2 separate regions of the Homo sapiens genome follow, and region 2 is linked to region 1. The links are contacts of gene promoters, found by promoter capture Hi-C in blood cells and fetal thymus (Javierre and others, 2016). All regions are on one chromosome and are shown on one strand. Each heading gives the region's core, a stretch centred on a gene start or on the middle of the fragment in contact. The rest is flanking DNA. Distances are from core to core; before and after follow the strand shown.

Region 1 (6,764 bases), core at 3,458-5,957:
CATGTGACTTTTTGTATATGTGTAGAGAACAGCATATGAGCAGGCTCTGCATCCCACAAATACTCTATTTTTGAACTGTGTTTGGTTGAAAAAAATCTGCACATAAGTGGACTTGTGCAGTTCAAACTCATGTTGCTCAAGGGTCAACTGTTACTTTGCTGATTAAGCTGTATCATGGTCAAAACTGAGCTTTCTAATACACTGTCTCCCCTACTCCTCCTAATTCCTGGTCTTGGATCTGGACTACCCAAAGAAAAACATACAGTGGAAATACTTACCTGGATAGCAGCAAGGAACAGAGCTGCCCCAAAAGTAGAAAGAGAGAGAGGTGTTCTTCAAACCTGCCTCTAGAAGGCAGGTCTGGGGCTCAGCAGGTGTGTTTACCCTATGGAAGCAGGATCTGAGTGAAGTGCATGCACACTGCAGGCAGGGAGGTGCAAAAGAGAGAACTTAAGAGTGTGCGTGTACAATGACCCCCCCCCCCCATGTCTCCATCAGAGAATACAATCATTTCTCCTTTGGGGAGAAGTGTGTAGAGGTAGAGATGGGGGTCAAAAATGATATTCCAGAATGGTTCCCTGCTTGGAGAAGAACAGGGAAATAGGGACAAATGACATATTCTTGCCTCCATGGGTGGGGACAAAGCCTGTATTCTTCACATCCTCCCAGCAGAAGCAGGGGATTCAACTCCCTCACAACCAAGGTCTGATCTAGAACTCATTCCCAGCCTCCAACCCATATTTCAGGAAGAGGTGTATGAATAGTTTCTGCTACTAGGTCATTCCTACATCCGAACTGTGGATGGCAGGGATGGGGCAATGGCTCAGAGGTTCAGTCTGACCCCAACCAACCCCCATATGTACTCACTCATTGAGTGAGTACATCTGATTAACAAAAAGAAACCAAAGAAACACCAATAAAATTAGGAAGCCTTTTTCATGGCATTTCACTAACTACTCCTTGAGAACTCTCTGGTTGCTGGAGTGAAAAAGGTAACAACAATACTCAGACTAAGAAAGACCTACCTAAAAACCTTTATCTGGCTACTCCCATGTATGTGCTGAGTATCTCCTTCCCCACCACCTCAAGACCTGGGAGGAGTCAGTTTTACCAATGAAAGACATGTCACATTGAGATTGTCAGAGGCCATCTCCAGATAAAAGTCCCTAGTGTACAAGAACCCAAATAAGGACACTATTTGGGAGCTTGAGAATCAAAAGTTATTTATCAACAGGTGATTGGAAAAGCCAAGCTTTCTTGAAACCAATTTCAGAATGGTTAGTGGAAATTCCTGTTGGCTTCCTTGGTCCACTTACCCAATGGCAGATCTTCAACTGAAAAGGACAAAGAGGAAACAGTAGTCTTCAATAGGACCCCCAATGCCCTAGCTATCCAGCCCTAGCTGAAGAGACAAACAGAGCAAAGAGAAGACTCCTTCCACTACCAAAAATCACTTTCACAGTGGGGGGCCTTCTCCTCCCACATGTAACTCAACAGCCCCACCTTCCCTGCTTAGCCTTCATTAGGAAATACTGAACCTCTTCAGGGTCATAGGCCATACTCTTTTGGTCCTTTCTAAGGACCCCTCCCTCACTTAGTGTAGGAGCACTTAGTACAGTCCCAATGTCATGTTTGTATCATTCACTCTCTTGAGGATGCTGGAATGCCCAGGACCAGAAAAAGAAGGGAATTCACACTGAAAATTAACCTAGCAGGTCCAAAGAGAAAGTCTCTCCTAGGATGCCAAAAAGTCATTCTCACTTTATGTCCACATGGTGTGAAGGGAGGGAACGTAACCAGTTAAGAAAAGGGCTTTTGGGTCAAACACAATAGGCAAAGGGTTCAATCAACATGTGAAGGTACACAGAAGCAATACAGAATAGGGAGCGAGGGAGGGACTAAGATCCCAGAGAGGAGGAAGAGATGGGGGTAATCAAGTGTGAGGGAAAGAGTCACTTAGCAGGCCAGACACCTAAGTTCTAGTCATGGCTCTTCCCAGCAACCTAGCATATGACTTTGAGCTTATCTAGTCTTCAGTATCCTCATCTGCAAAATAGGGGAAAGCAATTTGTTTAACCAGATGCCCGTTAGGGTCCTATGAGATTACAGCATCTTCCCCAAGTGTCAGTGATGGACTATTGCAAAATATTCAGGAGGGGGCCAGAGGGGATCTCCCAGGGCAGGAAATGCCTTTCAGCCTCATCTCTAAAGAAAGGGTCACATATATACACATTCATACATACACAAGCAGAGTGGTCAGTGATTTCATCCACAGCAGCAGAGACACATATAGAAAAAACAAATACTGTTGATGTCTGATTCCTTCTTATCGGGAAAGGGGCCCTGAGGATATAACTTGGAGGGACTATATGGTCAGAGGAGAAAGTTCCTCCTATTTCATAATAGCTATCACCTTGCTACTCCTTCCTCAAATCCAAGGCAGCCAGCTCCTTGGAAGAAACCAGTCTGTTACCCTTCCCTCTCCCACCCACCAACTCACCTGTTTCAGAAACGAAAATCTGCAGACTCTGAGGGAAATAACCCCCTAGTTAGCCATTAGGAAATTAACAGAATCTACCACTCCTGAGATTACATAAGGTGGGGCAGCTGTGTCCACACGCCTCTATTTCCCTGAAAGTTATCAATGGTTATGAGCGGTCTTGTTTCGGGCCCCGCCCAAACTTAAGGTCGCTTGAGTTTTCTCTCTGAGTGAAGGGGGAACTAGTCTGGACCACCCTTTTCTTGCTGGTGCCTTTACGGTAGTTTTCAAATTGTTTAACCAATCTCAGCGTGAGAGTGAGCCAGGAAGTTACCATCCTCAAGTAGGAATCCAAATGGGGAGAAGGGCTACGACGCAAGCGCAGGGTTCCAAATCATGCAACAGGACCTGCAAACAGACTCACACCCCAGACATCAAGAAGTATCTCCCAGCCACACATCTACATGGAGCTTATGTGGCCTCTCCTAGCAGAGGTAGCTGGGGCAATTGGGGGATTGGAGGGCATAAGCCTCCCATCAACCTGGGATCCCTATTTAAAAGATGCTAAAAATAAATTAGTAAACATTGCTGTTTACAGAAATAGAAATCATTTCTGTTTCCAAAGGCCTCTCACCATCCCAGTCCTGGACATTTCCAAGACTGCCACCCCTGACACCCTCTCCAAGGTCCGCCCTGGTGGATGGGTGAGACACCAGAGTCCTTTGAGACTGGGAGCTCCTCAGGCATCTGAGAATTCCAGTTTCACATCCCTGGTTCCAGGGAGGGGAGAATCTTCAGTACTCTGGAGAGTACGGGAGTTCATCCCTTCTTATCAGTTCCTGGGGGCTGTCTTGAGGCAACCCCCACTTTTAGGATGATATACACGTTGCAAGAATTCCCGCTATTTTCCGGCCCCCAGTACCTCCCCAGAGTCCACATGTCTGCCTGGACCCACCCTCAGAGCAGAGGAACCAGTCTGTGCCTTGGTGTAATGACTCTGGGAAAGAAGGATGGGCAGAGAGAAAGCAGGGACAACGGCCTGGGGGATCATCCTTGAGGGTAAGACTGACAGCAATGACTGTCCTACAGGCAGGTGGTGAAGCTGGGCGCCGGGCCGGGACCGGAGCCGGAGGCGGAGCTTTCCACCTCGCTGGTGAGTGGCGGGTCGATGCGGGGAGTTCGACGACGTCCCCGGTACTCGATCATATCTGGATGATAGGTTGGGTGGCGGCGAGCATGCTTGGTCAGGTGGTCGCTCCGGGAGAACTGCTTGGGGCAGAGGGGGCAGGAGAAGCGCTTCTCGCCCGTGTGCGTCCTGTAGTGGCGGGCCAGCTCGTCGGAACGCGTAAACTTCTTGTCGCAGTCGAGCCAGTCGCAGGAGAAAGGGCGCTCACCCGTGTGGGTGCGCTGGTGGGACTTGAGGTGCGACGACTTGTAATAGGCTTTGGTGCAGCCCGGGAAGGGGCATTGGTGGCGCTTGGCAGCAGGTGTGACAGACCTCCTCCGGGGCGCCTGATCCGCGGCGGGGGCGGGGCCTGCCCCTAGGGCCCCTCCAGAGAACCCACCAGAGGCTGCTGGTGCGCCCGGGGCAGCAGGCGCGCTTGGGACGGCGGGCGCATCGGAGGAGCTCTCGGGAGCGCAGACCGCCGCGGCGCCGGAGGCGGGAGCCAGCTCGGAGCACGGGGTCTGGACGGAGCACGGGATCGGGTCGGAGAAGCCGGACGAGGCGCGTGGAGCTTCCCCCGAGTTCTCCCAGGAGCCCTCGCCAGAGCTGCCGCGCAAGTCCGCCCAGACGCTTGCAGCCAGCAGGTGGGGCGCGGCGCCGCCCGCGCCGGGGCTGGGGGCGGGGACCTGCGGGAGCTGGGGGACCGACGCGGGCCCCGGTGGCCCCGGACCCGGCAGAGCGGACTCCGGCGGCGCCGCACCCACCTCCGAGCCAGCGGCTCCACCCGCGCCCTCGGGGTCCGGCGGGCGGCGGTGAACCACGGCGCCCGCGGACATGGACACCAGGCACTCGGCGGCGAAGTAGTCCAGGCACGCCACGGCGGCCGACATGCTGGGACCGCCCGGCCGCCGGCGAGCGCCGTCCGAACGCGGCCGGCCGCGGGCGACGGAGTTCCCGGGAGCGTCCGTCCCGCAGCCTCGGAGCGAGAAGCAGGAGGCCGGGTGCTCGCCGCCTGCCGCCTGCTGCCGCCGCCGCCGCCGCAGCCGCCGCTGCCGCCGCCGCCCGCGCGGAGCCCGCCCCGCCTGACGCGCCCCTGACGCACCGGAGCCCGCGGGGGCGGCAGAGACCCGCCCCGGCCCGCAGGACACCCCCTCGGAACGCGCGGCCCCCGGCTAAGTCATGTTTAACAGCCTCAGAAATTATCTTGTCTCCGCGTTCTTTCTTCTGCCGGCGAGCCAGGTAATGGTAACAGAGCGAAACTCCCCAGTCGGAACTTCTGGGTTGCAGCAGCCTCGCCCCCCCTCCCCGCAGCCCGCCGCCCGCTGGTCCGTCGCCAGCTGGGTGTCCCGCGGAGTCCCAGAAAGTTTTTTTTTTTTTTAAGGAAAAAAATTGCTAATACCTGACATGTCTTTCGGTTCATAATTGCGATTGTTAGCGAAGTGGTCTCGAATTCCATTTCACTCCCCGTTCGCCGCTCTCAGACTAAATTGCAAATATCCCCAAGTCTGTAGCAAAAAAAGTTTTCTCATTGAGCAGGTCAACTGTGAACCCGGGGCCGGGAGCAGTTCCCTAAATAGATCCGCTACGTAGCCATTAATTAATAGCATCTCGAACCAGAAACAGTTTTAACCTTGGAAAAGCAAAGAATCCTCTCCCGGTTGAAATTGAAACTTAAAATCCTTTGAGTAACGATTTAACTATTCAGCCAACGAAAGAAAAATGCATGTTTAAACTGCATTAACCTGTCACTGGCATCCAAACAAATTTAAACGCTGAGATATAAATTATAGTCTAGCGGCGAGATAAACACATTAAAATGGACTCCCACCATTTTAATAATAGAAAGTCACGTTTCCAATTAGGCATTATCTTGTAATTTGCTTTTGACGAAAGTTAAATGTAAGGAAATGCAGCACATGATATAGAATGCTCATATGGTGTTTTGTGATTGTGGAGGTTTGCCTTTTTTATAATCAAATGCATGTACGGTTTCTTTTACGTGTCTTCATTGCTCTCATTTTTTCCCTCGTTTTTCTTTTTAAAAATGTAAAACTACATAGAAAAACAAACAGGATAATTTCTAAAAATAGTCATATCTTAGTTTTTGATGTATACAAGCTTTTATATGAGTGAATTGTGTGCATTTTATTTGTAGTTCTTCAGTACTTTTTCTTTTGAAAATTAATACGTATGTATCAAGAATAACATACGTTCATGTATTTACTGCCTAGGGTAATCAAATGTGAAATTTTTGTTATAGTTGTTTCATGTTTTTATTTATATTAAACATTACAGATAGAGTTGAATGTCACTTTGTTTCCCTCCCCAGTTCCATTCACCTTTCTCCCTCTTCACTTTTCTAGGTAATTAGTATTATAAAGTGGCTATTTAATCTGCATTTGTTTTGATACCCGTATTACCTAATTATACATGTAAATATATGTATATCTCCATGCTTATTTATTAAAATTTTTAAGTAAATGGTTCACTAGTATACATATCATTTTGCAACTTCTTTCCCTCAATATGATTTTGACAGCTATCCAGGTTGACACCTATAGAATCTACTTTATTCATTTCAGCAGTTTTTAAATAATATTGTCAGTGTTATTATTTTTAAGGCGATTCCATTGCAAAACAGTTAATTTTTCTGAAGTTCCTCTAGACGATTAACTCTTCGTTAATCTACACATTAAAATCTATCAGATAGAATAATTTACTAGCTGTTTTAATTTTATTATTTAGAAAAAATGTGAAGATATTTAAAATGCAGAGAGAACATTACAAGCACCCATATACCTGTCTCATATAATGAATATGTTAACATTTTGTTATATCTCCCTCAGATCTATTAAGTATTCAACATTTCTGATAAAATTGAAGGTCCCCTTGTACTGCCCCCAATACCATTCTCCACCCTTTTCCCCAAAGGCAAACACTAACATGAATTTGGTATGTAACTTTCCAGTCTGGGTTTTACAATTTAACTGGATGTGAACCTATAAAATGCAGAATATTGGTTTATATGATTTTTTTAAATGTACAAACATGGTATTAGGCTGTGCATATTATTCTTGGACTTATTTTTTTCATTCATGGTATGTTTTTATTTTTTCTCTT
Region 2 (6,539 bases), core at 1,314-3,813, 540 kb before region 1:
TTCAGAGTAGATAAGAAAAAAATCTGTTCAATGGGACCAGGAGATAATGAAAGCTTGTCTGTCATAGGTTGTTGGGAGACTTAAAAAAAAAAAAAAAGAAAAACAACACCCTGAGATTTAAAAATTATAGATATATCTTCACATGGGTTTAGAGTGCCCATTTATATTACCTGTGAGGTCCAGGAATCTCCAAGCTTAGAAATTACTTAAGTTAGCTCAAAGTCAATAATACTCCTAAGGCACCTGACAGAGGCAAATACAAAACAGCTAGGAAGAGACAAGGCTTCCATCCAGCCAAGATAAGCTTACCAGAAACAAACAGAAATTACATCAATCACAAGGAAACAAGACTGCAGTCCTAACAACCAACAAGACAAAAATGGTCAGTATTTAACCTCCAAGAACTTTAGATAATTGAACTATTGGACAAATAACATTTAAAAAGTGTGTTTAAGCAACTGAGATAGAAAAAGGAACTGAAAACATAAGAATAAAAAATATTCTACAAAAACCTGGCATAATTGAAAAGGACCAAATAAAACTATAAAATGAGAACAAGTGGCTGAAATTAAAAAACTCAATGAATTAGTTAAATAACAGTTTAGACATTACTAAAGAAAGAGCTGATGAGTCCACAGTGACTAAACCAAAAAAGCTGGGGTGGGGGTAAAACAGAATGCTCCTCTTTAGAGAAGAATGCCAAACTATGAAGTGTAGAAATAAATAATTAGAAAATCTCCACTTTGGCCAGGCGCAGTGACTCACACTTGTAATCCCAGCACTTTGGGAGGCCAAGGCGGGCGGATCACAAGGTCAGGAGATCGAGACCATCCTGGCTAACATGGTGAAACCCCGTCTCTACTAAAAATACAAAAAATTAGCCAGGCGTGGTGGCAGGCACCTGTAGTCCCAGCTACTCGGGAGGCTGAAGCAGGAGAATGGCATGAACCCGGGAGGCGGAGCTTGCAGCGAGCCGAGATCACACCACTGCACTCCAGCCGGGGTGACAGAGTGAGACTCCGTATCAAAAAAAAAAAAAAAAAAAAAAAAAGAAAATCTCTACTTTATAATCACCACTTTATCAAGGACAAGGATCATCAACAGATGCTAAAATCACTGGGTAAAAGGCTGTTAAGGAAACAGGACATAAAGGGAAAATCATGAAGAAATCCAGTTGCTATCAACTTAACCAAGTGATCCTATTTTATTATATATTACCGACAAAGAGACAAAGCAGCATCACGTATCTCCTGATGTGATACACTGAAAAGGACATGCCACCACCCATGTTGTATTCTTGCCAGAAAATAATATTTAAACGGAATCTAACAGTAACAAAATGATCAAACAAATCTGAATTTTCAAAACAACAGCCTCATCTCTTCAAAATGTAAATGTCATAAAAGAAAACAAAACAAAAAATCCCACAAAACCCACACTATCCAAATGGTTTCGATTTAAGGAGACAACAGAAGCACAAGTAAATGCAATATGTGATACCTGATTGGATCCTGCATCAATAAAAGAAAAAAAAAGCACTACAAGGGTCAGTATTGGGTCAACTGGGGAAATGTGAATATGAACACCCATAGTATCTTAAGCATGACAATCATATTGTCATTATTCATTTATTTATTTTTTCTTTGAGACAGAGTCTCACTCTGTCACCCAGGCTGGAGTGCAGTGGTGTGATCTCGGTTCACTGCAACCTCCGCCTCCCGGATTCAAGCGATTCTCCTGCCCCAGCCTCCAGAGTGGCTGGGATACAGGCTCGCGTCACCAAGCCTCGCTAATTTTTTAGTAGAGGTGGGGTTTCACCATGTTGGTCAGAAAATCCTGACCTGGTCTCAAAATCCTGACCTCATGATCCACCTGCCTCAGCCTCCCAAAGTGCTGGGATTACAAGCGTGAGCCACTGAGCCCAGCCCATATTGTAGTTATAAAGGAAGATGTCTTGGTCTTAGGAGATGCATGTGAAATATTCAGGAATGAAGTGGAATGATGCCCGCAACTTCCTTTCAAATGATTCAGCAAAAAAGTGTGCATGAGAGAGAGAATATGAGGGCCTGGTTTTTCACTACTGGAGAAAGTTACAAATACGAAAAGTGGGGAGGACAGAATAAACTGTATAGCTGGACTGGAACTAGAAGTAACATTATAAACTCATGGTTTTTTAAAAACATAGAATAACACATATAGATGTGTGTGTGTACATATATCTGTGTATATGTCCATACAAATATTTCCTAGAGGACCTGGAGTAATGATACCTCAATAATAACAGTGTGCCCAGTGCCCAGATAATAATTTCTAAGTATCATTCTCCATTAAAAGGAATCAGGGCTCTTAGAGAAACAGACTGACTCTGGAGCTAGCCAGGGAAAACACAAAATGAGCCTGACCTATTTTGTGGTGCTAGAAAGGTGGCGCGGGCAGGGGGATTAGCTCAAAGAATGATAGTGTCATGTCAAAAGAACAGAGAAGTCAGCTTACAGAGGATCCCACTAGCCCAATCTGAGACAATCAAATCGTCAACATAAGTGAATGATTAGGGAGAAGAAACCTTTATCTTACAGAATACCAACAAATAAATGTAAAAGGCAGCTGCACAATAATGTAAATGTACTTACCACCACTTAATTAAACACTTCAAATGGCTAATATTGGGCCAGGCGCGGTGGCTCACGGCTGTAATTCCCAGCACTTTGGAGGCCGAGGCGGGCAGATCACCTGAGGTCAGGAGTTTGAGACCAGCCTGGCCAACAAGGGGAAACCCTGTCTCTACTAAAAATACAAAAATTAGCCAGGCATGGTGGCAGATGCCTGTAATCCTAGCTACTTGGAAAGCTGAGGCAGGAGAATCGCTTGAACCTGGGAGGCAGAAGTTGCAGTAAGCCGAGATCGCACCACTGCACTCCAGCCTGGGCGACAGAGCCAAGACTCCATCTCAAAAAAAGAAAAAAAAAAGGCTAATATTGTAAATTTTATGTATACTGTATTACAGTAAAAAAAAAAAAGGAAAAATGTTAAAGGAATAAACATAGAAGAAATGATGAAATTGGAAAGCTCCATGACAACCAACATAGTAATAATTTTGAAAATAATCTTAAAAGGATGTTAGAACTAGTAAGTCAAAGTTTGATGGGGTCAGGCACAATGGCTTACGCCTATAATCCCAGCACTTTTGGAGGCCAAAGTGGGTGGATTGTGTGAGCTCAGGAGTTCGAGACCAGCCTGGGCAACATGGCAAAACCCGGTCTCTACTAAAAACACAAAAATTAGCATGGCATGGTGGCATGCATCTGTAGTCCCAGCTACTCAGGAGGCTGAGGTGGGAGAGGCACCTGAGCGCTGAATTCAAGGCTGCAGCGAGCCAAGACTGCACCACTGCAACAGTGAGACCTAGTCTCAAAAAAAAAAAAAAAGTTTGATGGGGACCAAATAACTATATAGTTTTAGATCAGTAGCTTCCCACAAAATACTTATTAATCATTTATTAATTTGCACAAAATACTTAATTTTCGAAAACCCATGGGTATAGAAGGGCTAAAAGTATAGGGATAGAGATAGATATACCAGCCAGATACTAACCAAAAGGAAATTAATATAGATGTGTCAATGTCAGACAAAATAGACTTTAAGGCAAAAAGCCTAAGAGATAAAGATAAGTGGCATAATTCACCAGAATGATATTCACAATTCTGAATTTACATGCATTTAACGTAATCTCGTATGTATACTTAGCAAATCTGACAGAATTGCAAGAAAACATTTAATGGAAGACAATCAACGGGAGCTTTTGGCACACTTTCTTAATAACCAATAGATAAAGCAGATAAAAATTAGTAAGATAAAGTATTTAAGAATACCATCAAGAAGTGTGACAGTGAACAAATATAGAGCCCCAAATTTAGAGACTCTGCATTCTGTTCAATATACCAAAGCCATTTACAGAAAAGTGATCACATAGTAGACCTAAAAGCAAGTCTCAAACAAACAAACACAAAATTGATAGGTACAGATCAGATTCTCTAACCACAGTAAAATTAACTTAGGAGAAAAAAAAGGTAACCAAGCCTTTTCAGGCTTGAAAATTAAAAGCAACACCAATAACACTTCCAAACAATAATAATATTACTTCTAAATAGCTCCTACTGGGATAAAGAATAAAAGTGAAGTCAGAAAATATCTGGGTATTACAAAGATGTGCCAAGGATACATAGGTTCTTTGTATTATACTCTGTATTAAAGTTTCAGTAGACTCAAAATATTTCAAATTTTTTTCAAAAAGCATGTATCAAAAATAAGAAGATAGTATTGACTGGTTTCTGTAACATCTGTGGCACTTTCAGGCAAAATGAAATTAGAAATCACTGGTGAGACTCCAAGCGACACAAAGAGTCATGGTCCAATAACCGGCTTCCTCGCCACAGCTGAGTATTAGCGCCTAATATGCTTTCGTGAAAGTTCCTGACGGGGGAAAAATCATTACTCAGTTCAATAACCTAATTTGGTTTCAAATAATTGACTCTGTAATAATCAAATTCACCCCAAACAGATTAAGATTTGCTAACACTCTTTCCCAAGGTAAACTATAGGCTTTCAGGAAATACTAAAACGCAAGTTTTAAAATGTTATGAAAAACAGCAGCGCTTCTCGAGTAAATACATGTTCTCTCTTTCAGCCTGCTCTGCCACACCAACCTTCCAAAAGACTACTTGAAAAGAGACAGCTATAATTTGAGTAAGTTCACTACGCACTGCTTCAAAACATTATTTTGTAGCCTCAACTTTAAATAGAAATTGTAACTTACATTATACGAAAAAGCTTTCAATCTTATTGTAGGTTTGAGATTTCTTAGTTTAGCTATATTTCACTTCCTAAATTTAGTGAACTTAATTCTAACTGCATAAAATAATGTTACATATAAAGTAAAACAAAACATGCTAAGCTAATAAAGTATGTTAGTATGGATATTAAAATAATGAAAATAGTAGGTTAAGGATTGACACCAAAAATATGTATAGTAGATATACAGAAATATATATGTACCCAGCTTAACCCTATGCTGTTTCTCCTCTTCACTTCTGAGAAAAGTATCCAAAGTTCGTAGGTCGGTCATGTAGTCTTCTTTGTCAGTAGGTGAGTTGTAGACGGTAGGTGAAGAACGGTAGCGAGATCTCAATCCACTGCTCTCCACTGGTCCAACAGTGGTAGGGTACGGAGAAGGAGGAGAGGGGCTAAAGCTCGCCAACTATACAAAATAAAAGATCTTTACTTTATTTTTCTTTAATTGAAATTCATTTTGTTTTGGTTTTTGACTTAAGTAAAACACCTAGTAGAATGGCGAAAATCCACAATACTGACAACATCAAACGCTGATGAGGTTGTGGAACAACAGAATCTCTCATTCTTTGCTGGTGGGAATGCAAAATGATACAGCCACTTTGAAACAGTCTGGCTGTTTCTTACAAAAGTAAATATTATCTTACCATACGAACTAGTAATTGTGCTCCTTAGTATTACCCAAGGAGTTGAAAACTTACGGCCACACACAAACCTGTATGTTTATGGCAGCTTTATTCCTAATGGCCAAAACTTGAAAGCAACCAAGATGCCCTTCAGTAGGTGAACGAGTAAATAAACTGGCAAAATTAGGTAATGGAGTATTAGCACTAAAAAGAAGTGAGCTATTGCTGGGCACGGTGGCTCACACCTATAATCCCAGCACTTTTGGAGGCTGAGGTGGGCGGATCACCTGAGGTCGGTGACCAGCCTGACCAACATGGAGAAACCCTGTGTCTACTTAAAATACAAAATTAGCTGGGCGTGGTGGTGCATGCCTATAATCCCAGCTACTCGGGAGGCTGAGGCAGGAGAATCGCTTAAACCCCGGGAGGCGGAGGTTGTGGCGAGCCAAGATCGCGCGACTGCACTCCAGCCTGGACAATAAAAGCGAAACTCCATCTCAAAAGAAAAAAAAAAAAGTGAGCTATCAAGCTACGAAAAGACATAAAGCAATCTTAAATGCATATTGTTAAGTGAAAGAAGCCAATCCGAAAAGCTACACGGGTATGATTCTAAGTACATGACGTTCTAGAAAAGGCAAAACTATGGCGGCAATTAAAAAAAAACACTGGTTAACAGGAATTTGGAGGAAAAGATGAATGAATAAATGGTGCAGTTTCATTCTGTATGATACTATAATTGTGAACATGTCATTACACATTTGTCCAAACCCATAGAACGTACAACACCAAGAGTGAACCCTAATGTAAACTATGCACTTTGGGTGATAATGACGTGTCAATGCAGGTTCATCAGCTGTAAGAAATAAACCACTGTGAGGCCGGGTGCGGTGACTCACGCTTGTAGTCCCAGCACTTTGGGAGGTCTAGGTGGGCGAATCACGGGGTCAGGAGATCGAGACCATCCTGGCTAACATGGTGAAACCCCGTCTCTACTAAAAGTACAAAAAAATTAGCTGGGTGTGGTGGCGGGCACCTGTAGTCCCAGCTACTCGGGAGGCTGAGGCAGGA

The links. Contacts are between HindIII fragments. The CHiCAGO score rates a contact against its expected background, and 5 or more counts as called.
Region 2: a contact is called between a fragment that was not itself captured here and the fragment with the promoter of KLF14 in region 1, in 9 of 17 cell types (endothelial precursors, megakaryocytes, erythroblasts and 6 more). The highest score is 8.9, in endothelial precursors.

Annotation. Positions count from the first base shown.
Region 1 is chr7:130,729,500-130,736,263 of GRCh38, forward strand. KLF14 (KLF transcription factor 14) reads right to left here and starts at 4,708. Exons shown (of 1, transcript NM_138693.4): 1 at 1,198-4,708. The coding sequence starts at 4,534. The coding sequence ends at 3,563. LOC105375508 (a long non-coding RNA gene) reads left to right here and starts at 4,765. Exons shown (of 4, transcript XR_927978.3): 1 at 4,765-4,883. RefSeq lists an enhancer at 3,779-4,316 and silencers at 4,212-4,371, 4,442-4,521. The HindIII fragment of the contact is 4,510 bases long and covers 1,251-5,760 here.
Region 2 is chr7:130,187,570-130,194,108 of GRCh38, forward strand. TMEM209 (transmembrane protein 209) reads right to left here. Exons shown (of 15, transcript NM_032842.4): 6 at 5,053-5,254. It overlaps LOC124901745 (a long non-coding RNA gene), which reads left to right and starts at 4,511. Exons shown (of 3, transcript XR_007060522.1): 1 at 4,511-4,743. The HindIII fragment of the contact is 4,523 bases long and covers 303-4,825 here.